Linked DNA regions of Homo sapiens: region 1 is linked to region 2. The links are contacts of gene promoters, found by promoter capture Hi-C in human tissues and cell types (Jung and others, 2019). All regions are on one chromosome and are shown on one strand. The core of a region is centred on a gene start or on the middle of the fragment in contact, and the rest is flanking DNA. Distances in the headings are between cores, read along the strand shown. Region 1 overlaps OIP5 (Opa interacting protein 5). Region 2 holds the start of DLL4 (delta like canonical Notch ligand 4).

The links. Contacts are between HindIII fragments. The study calls those that stand out against the background at their distance.
Region 1: a fragment that was not itself captured here is called in contact with the fragment with the promoter of DLL4 in region 2 in 2 of the 25 tissues and cell types used here (lymphoblastoid cells and spleen).

The regions. Positions count from the first base shown.
Region 1 is chr15:41,311,019-41,314,236 of GRCh38, forward strand. OIP5 (Opa interacting protein 5) reads right to left here. Exons shown (of 5, transcript NM_007280.2): 4 at 2,255-2,336. OIP5-AS1 (OIP5 antisense RNA 1) reads left to right here. Exons shown (of 5, transcript NR_152821.1): 5 at 880-2,320. Among named protein-coding and RNA genes, the nearest start is that of OIP5, 20 kb to the right of the region's middle. The HindIII fragment of the contact is 4,895 bases long and covers 1-3,218 here.
Region 2 is chr15:40,927,768-40,931,132 of GRCh38, forward strand. It overlaps DLL4 (delta like canonical Notch ligand 4), which reads left to right and starts at 1,573. Exons shown (of 11, transcript NM_019074.4): 1 at 1,573-1,967; 2 at 2,080-2,349; 3 at 2,858-2,915. The coding sequence starts at 1,902. RefSeq lists silencers at 715-784, 1,378-1,467. The HindIII fragment of the contact is 17,329 bases long and covers 1-3,365 here.

The DNA of each region.
Region 1 (3,218 bases), core at 140-2,639, 380 kb after region 2:
CACCCTACAAGCAAGCTGGGGGCAAGGGCAACTGGGTTCCCAGCTACTGGGGAGGCTGAAGCAGAAGCACTTGAACCTGGCACTCACACCTGTAATCCCAGCAGTTTGGTAGGCCGAGGCGGGTGGGTCACCTGAGCTCGGAAGTTCGAGAACAGCCTGGCCATCATTTTTAGCAGAGATGGTAAAACCCCGTCTCTACTAAAAATACAAAAATTATCTGGGCACGGTAGTGCGCGCCTGTAGTCCCAGGTACTCAGGAGGCTTTTTAGTATTTTTAGTAGAGACAAGGATTCTCCATGTGGGAGAATCGCTTGAACCCGGGAGGAGGGGGTTGCAGTGACCCAAGACTGTGCCACTGCATTCCAGCCTGGGAGGCAGAGTGAGACTTTGTCTCAAAAATAAATAAACAAATAAATGTTTCTGTATTTGCCATATACCTTGAAGAAAATTTCCACAGACTTAAGATGGTTGTTTCCTTTATAATATTCTTCCTGGATCCTATCCATGGAACTCCTCATACTGCCATTCCAAAGTCATTTCCCATACCAATTATTATTATTATTATTTTTGAAATAGATTCTCACTGTCACCCAGGCTAGAATGCAATGGCGTGATCTTGGCTCACTGCAACCTCTGCCATCCAGGTCCAAGCGATTCTCCTGCTTCAGCCTCCTGAGTAGCTGGGGCTGGGATTATAGGCGCCTGCCACTGCGCCTGGCTAATTTTTCTAGTTTTAGTAGAGACGGGGTTTCACCATCTTGGCCAGGCTGAACTCCTGACCTCATGATCCACCCACCTCGGCTTCTCAAAGTGCTGGGATTACAGGTGTGAGCCACCGCACCCAGCCAATAAGAATTCTTTTTTTTTTTTTCCACACAGAGTTTCGCTCTCAATGGCAAGCTCTCGGCTCACTGCAACCTCTGCCTCCCAGGTTCAAGCGATTCTCCTGCCTCAGCCTCCCGAAAAGCTGGGATTATAGGCATGCGCCAACACGCCCGGCTAATTTTGTATTTTTAGTAGAGATGGGATTTCTCCATGTTGGTCAGGCTGGTCTCAAACTCCCGACCTGAGGTGATCTGCCTGCCTCAGCCTCCCAAAGTGCTGGGATTACAGGCATAAGCCACCATGCCCAGCCTTCTTTTTTTCTTTTTTTTTTTTTTGAGACAGATTTTCACTCTTGTTGCTCAGGCTAGAGTGCAATGGCATGATCTTGCCTCACAACAACCTCTATCTCGCAGGTTCAAGTGCTTCTCCTGTCTCAACCTCCCAAGTAGCTGGGATTACAGGCATGTGCCACCACGCCCGGCTAATTTTGTATTTTTAGTAGAGACAGGGTTTCTCCATGTTGGTCAGGCTGGTCTCGAACTACTGATCTCGGGTTATCCATCCGCCTCAGCCTCCCAAAGTGCTGGGATTACAGGCGTGAGCCACCACGCCCAGGCAAGAATTATTTTTTTTTGAGACGCAGTCTCGCTCTGTTGCCCAGGCTGGAGTGCAGTGGCGCAGTCTCGGCTCACTGCAACCTCCACCACCTGGGTTCAAGCGATTCTCCTGCCTCAGTCTCCTAAGTAGCTGGGATTACAGGCGCCCACCACCATGACCGGCTAAATTTTTTTTTTTTTTTTTTTTGAGACAGAGTCTTGCTCTGTTGCCCAGGCTGGAATGCAGTGGCGCAATCTCAGCTCACTGCAACCTCCACCTCCCAGTTCAAGCAATTCTCCTGCCTCTGCCTCCCGAGTAGCTGGGACTACAGGCACGTGCCACCACGCCCGGCTAATTTTTTGTATTTGTAATAGAGATGGGGTTTCACTGTGTTAGCCAGGATGGTCTCCATCTCCTGACCTCATGTTCTGCTCGCCTTGGCCTACCAAAGTGCTGGGATTACAGGCGTGAGCCACCACGCCCGGCCAGGAATTCTTAATAACTGTTTCATCACTCTTATGTCTGAGACAGTTGAGCAATTACAAGGTATTTGCAAAGAAGACACCTCTATGGCAAGATGATGATATCCATTCCCAGCACAAAGGAGAATGCAGGAGTGCAGCAGTTGAGCAGCTTTTCCTTTCTTCCTGAACTATACCTTACAGTGTGGTTTTAGTATTTTGTTTTTCATTACAAATTCAATAGGGAAGGTCAAATCAAGTAAAAAGGATTATTGAGCATCATGCCATTTCATCATCCCCAAGTTCATTGGTAGAAGTTATCAAGAGTTGTCTGTATTTTAAAAAAGCATACAACCATCATGAAATTTTACCTCTGCAATCTTTTCTGATAGAGGAACATTTTGAATATCCATCTCTGATGCATTTACTATGGCTTTTGTTTTTAAGAGATAGCTAGATAGGAAAAAAGAAAAATATTAGTGTCATACCATGGTTAAGATTATAAAAGAACCAAACTTACCTTCTAAAGAAAGTATGTGTCAAAAAAAGCCTGGCTTCTTAATGATTTTCATTTCAAGACTCATGATGTTACAGTTGGCCCACCATATCCATGGGTATAGCATCCATGGATTCAAACAACCACAGACTAAAAATATTCAGGAAAAAAAAACTGGATTGTGTCTGTACTGAACAGGTACACTCTTTTTCTTGTCATCATTCCCTTAACATTACAACAACTTTGTAAATTTCCTATGTAAATTTGTAATGTACATAGCATTTACATTACGTTAGCTGTCATAAGTAATCTGGAGATTATTTTAAAGTATAAAATATATACTTTTATACTTTAAAAAGGAGGATATCCAAAAGTAATATGCAAATATTACACCACTTAATATCAGAAACTTGAGTGTCCATGGATTTTGGTATCTGGTGAGGTCCTGGAACCACAGATACTGAAGGATGACTGCATTTTCTTGGAAAAACAAATTCAAAAATAAACAAATTGGAGAGGATCTCTGCCGCATCCCACCAGAGACAAAATTATCTCAGGGTAAATTAAAGACAAAAACCAGGCTCATATGAATAATTACGATGATTATAAGCTTTACACTTCATCAGTAGGATCCTGTAGCACAGTTTGAAAGAAAGTAATCCCAGTATGAGACATAGTGTTGGTCACCTATTCCCAGTAGCTGTTCCTCACTTTTTTTTTTTGAGATGGAGTCTCGCTCTGTTGCCCAGACTAGAGTGCAGTGGTACAATCTCAGCTCACTGCAACCTCTGCCTCCTGGGTTCAAGCGATTCTCCTGCCGCAGCCTCCCGAGTAGCTGG
Region 2 (3,365 bases), core at 323-2,822:
TCCTCACCTCGCCCCTCCCCCAACCCACGCTCCCAACCTCTTGTTTCTCATCCTTCCCCCCCCCACCACACCCGTCCCCCAGTCCTCCACCACCACCACCCAACTCAAAAAAAAAAATCAGACCATGCTCGGCATTGGCAGCTGTTGGGCTTCTCGCCGCTCCCCCACCCTTACCGCCTCCCCCGGGTTCGCGCCGCGTCCCGGCTCCCCCCCCGCGCTGATCTTACCGCCCGACTACAGCCATCACCTCGCGGGCGGGCTGACAGCTGAAGCCACAGGGCCCCCGCTGCCCTCGGCGTCGCAAAGAGAGAGCTCCCCGGCACCCCTGAGACTGGGAGAAGCCGGCCCTCCCCGGTCTGCGGTCTCCGGGGATCACGCCGGGTTCCGAGAAAGCAGCTGCGCTGCTGCCGCTTGGAGGAGTGGGGCCACCCAGGGGACCCTCTCGGGCGAGACTTGGGAAGCCGCCTGAAACTCAAACAGCTCCGCAAGCCTCCAGTTCCACCCCACATCCCGCCTTATGAGGCGAGGACCCGGGCCGACCCGGCCTCAGTCCCTCACCTTGATTCTCCAGTGGCCTGAGCCAACTCTGGCGTCAGGAGAGTTCCTCCTTGCCCCAGCTGAGCGACAGGGCGCGGCCGGGGGCTTGGGGCTGCTGGGGTGGGGGGAGGCAGTGGGCGCAGGAACTGAAGCTGGACTCAGGTGAGGGGACGCGCTGGAGGCGGGGCCAGAACCTCATTACCATACAGCTGAGGACGCGCCCCCCTCCTACCTCCGGGACCACGCCCCGCCCTCCCCCACCTCAGGGACCGCGCGTCTGGGTCTCTGGCACGCGCCAAGCCCTGGCAGGGGGCAGAAGGGAGAAGGCACGCGCTGGGCACGCCCCCCCTTAGCTAGAGAGGGAGACGCCCAACAGGTGCACAGAGAGGGCCCCGAGCCTTAGACCCTTAGCCCCTAGCCTTGCTCAGAGTGGCCACAGAGAGGTTAACGCTTCTGCTGGCTTCCCTGCTGCGCTGGGGACGCGTGGTGGGTGGGCACTCATAGGTTGGGGGCCGTTGAGACAAGGGCTCCAGAAGCTCCAGGAAGGAAAAGGAGATCGGATTTCCCTAGCGCTGGTTTTTGCATTCCGGGCTTAAGTTCTTTTTACCTGCTTTGGAACACTAGGTAACTAGCGCCTGCTGCGGATGCACAGCCTACAGGGACTGCCTAGTGTCTCCGCCCCCAAGACCATCCCCGAACCACCCACTCACCTCCTGCCCCATTACCGGGCAACCCCTCTATCCTCCGGCGGCCAGGGTCTCAGCCCTTAACCCCGCCATCACGGAGGACTGGTCACCTCGGCACGCGCAGAGCTGGGGGACCTAGAGGTTGGGAGCGGCACGGAGGGGCGGGGACCTGCGCCCGACTGGCTGACGGGGAGGGGGGAGCGGCGGGGGCGGAGGCCCCCTCCGGGCGGCGCTGGGACTGTAGCAGCTAGAGGCCGGGAGGGGAGGGGAGAATGACCATGAGTCTGAGTGACAGGCGGCGAGGAGAGGAGCCAATATATATAAGGAAGGCCCCCAGCGCGCAGGTTTCAGTAGCGGCGCTGCGCGCAGGCCGGGAACACGAGGCCAAGAGCCGCAGCCCCAGCCGCCTTGGTGCAGCGTACACCGGCACTAGCCCGCTTGCAGCCCCAGGATTAGACAGAAGACGCGTCCTCGGCGCGGTCGCCGCCCAGCCGTAGTCACCTGGATTACCTACAGCGGCAGCTGCAGCGGAGCCAGCGAGAAGGCCAAAGGGGAGCAGCGTCCCGAGAGGAGCGCCTCTTTTCAGGGACCCCGCCGGCTGGCGGACGCGCGGGAAAGCGGCGTCGCGAACAGAGCCAGATTGAGGGCCCGCGGGTGGAGAGAGCGACGCCCGAGGGGATGGCGGCAGCGTCCCGGAGCGCCTCTGGCTGGGCGCTACTGCTGCTGGTGGCACTTTGGCAGCAGGTAACACGTCCCGCGCCCTCTCCGTCCCCTCTGCCGCGCTCTGGGCCTCAGCCCCGGGCACCAGCTGAGCTGACCGGTCCCCTCCCTCCTTCCCTCGGTCCCTGTGCAATAGCGCGCGGCCGGCTCCGGCGTCTTCCAGCTGCAGCTGCAGGAGTTCATCAACGAGCGCGGCGTACTGGCCAGTGGGCGGCCTTGCGAGCCCGGCTGCCGGACTTTCTTCCGCGTCTGCCTTAAGCACTTCCAGGCGGTCGTCTCGCCCGGACCCTGCACCTTCGGGACCGTCTCCACGCCGGTATTGGGCACCAACTCCTTCGCTGTCCGGGACGACAGTAGCGGCGGGGGGCGCAACCCTCTCCAACTGCCCTTCAATTTCACCTGGCCGGTGAGCACAGCCTGGGCGCACTGGGAGGTCGCAGAAGCCGAGAGAGGAGGCGCCCTGGGACCAAAGCCCCCTCCCCAGATTTCCTTGTACACACACCCCCACCCCCAAAAAGCCCAGGATGCATTCTTTCCTGGCTCTTCCCGACTCTCTCCTGAGACTGATCCCAGAAAAGGCTCTCACCAGTCTCCGTCTTCCCAGTTTATGTCCTCCCGTCCCCAGCTCTTGGGACACGATTTTCATTACCTACCACTCTGGGGCGGTACCCTACCACCCCCTCCTCCAGTGGCTCTCCCTTACACTCTCCCGTCTCTCAACCCTCCCTCTACCGGGGGTTCTCCTCTCGCCTTCCCTGCTCAAGCGCTACACTGTGCACAGCCCCGTTATGTTGACCCGGGCGCAGTAACTGAATCCTGCAATTAGATTAATTAAACAGGCTGCCGCAAGGCACCCCCACCTCTCCCCGCTTGCTCATCTCGCCATCTCTCCGTCCCCCCACCCCCTTTCCCAGGGTACCTTCTCGCTCATCATCGAAGCTTGGCACGCGCCAGGAGACGACCTGCGGCCAGGTGAGTAGCTCGCTCCGCCACCACAGGGGGGCGACACGGCGCAGCGCCGAAAGAGTTAATCTGTTCTAGGCGGGGGAAGTGCGGGCTTGGGGGTGGGAGGCAGGACGCTTAGCTTGGCCTGGAGCTGCGCCCCGCGCTGGACGCTCGGATTCCGCTCGCTGCCTGGACTCAGAGCACAATTGCGTTTCCTGCGGGTTATTTTTGGCGTGGGAACGCGGGGAGTACGGCGGTGAGAAAGGCTGAAGCTGCCAGCGCCGCTGACGGGCCCCTTCCTGTATTTTACACCTTTCGCGAATTCCGCTCCTTTGGAAAGGGAATAATGGCTTTGGGATGTTGTTCTGACACAGAGGAAAAGGATATTTCAGCAGCACAACAATTCTCACTTTGAAAAGGAAAAAAGAAAACCATTACCCACCTCTGGAGGCAGAACCCCTGAATGGGCACCAAAGG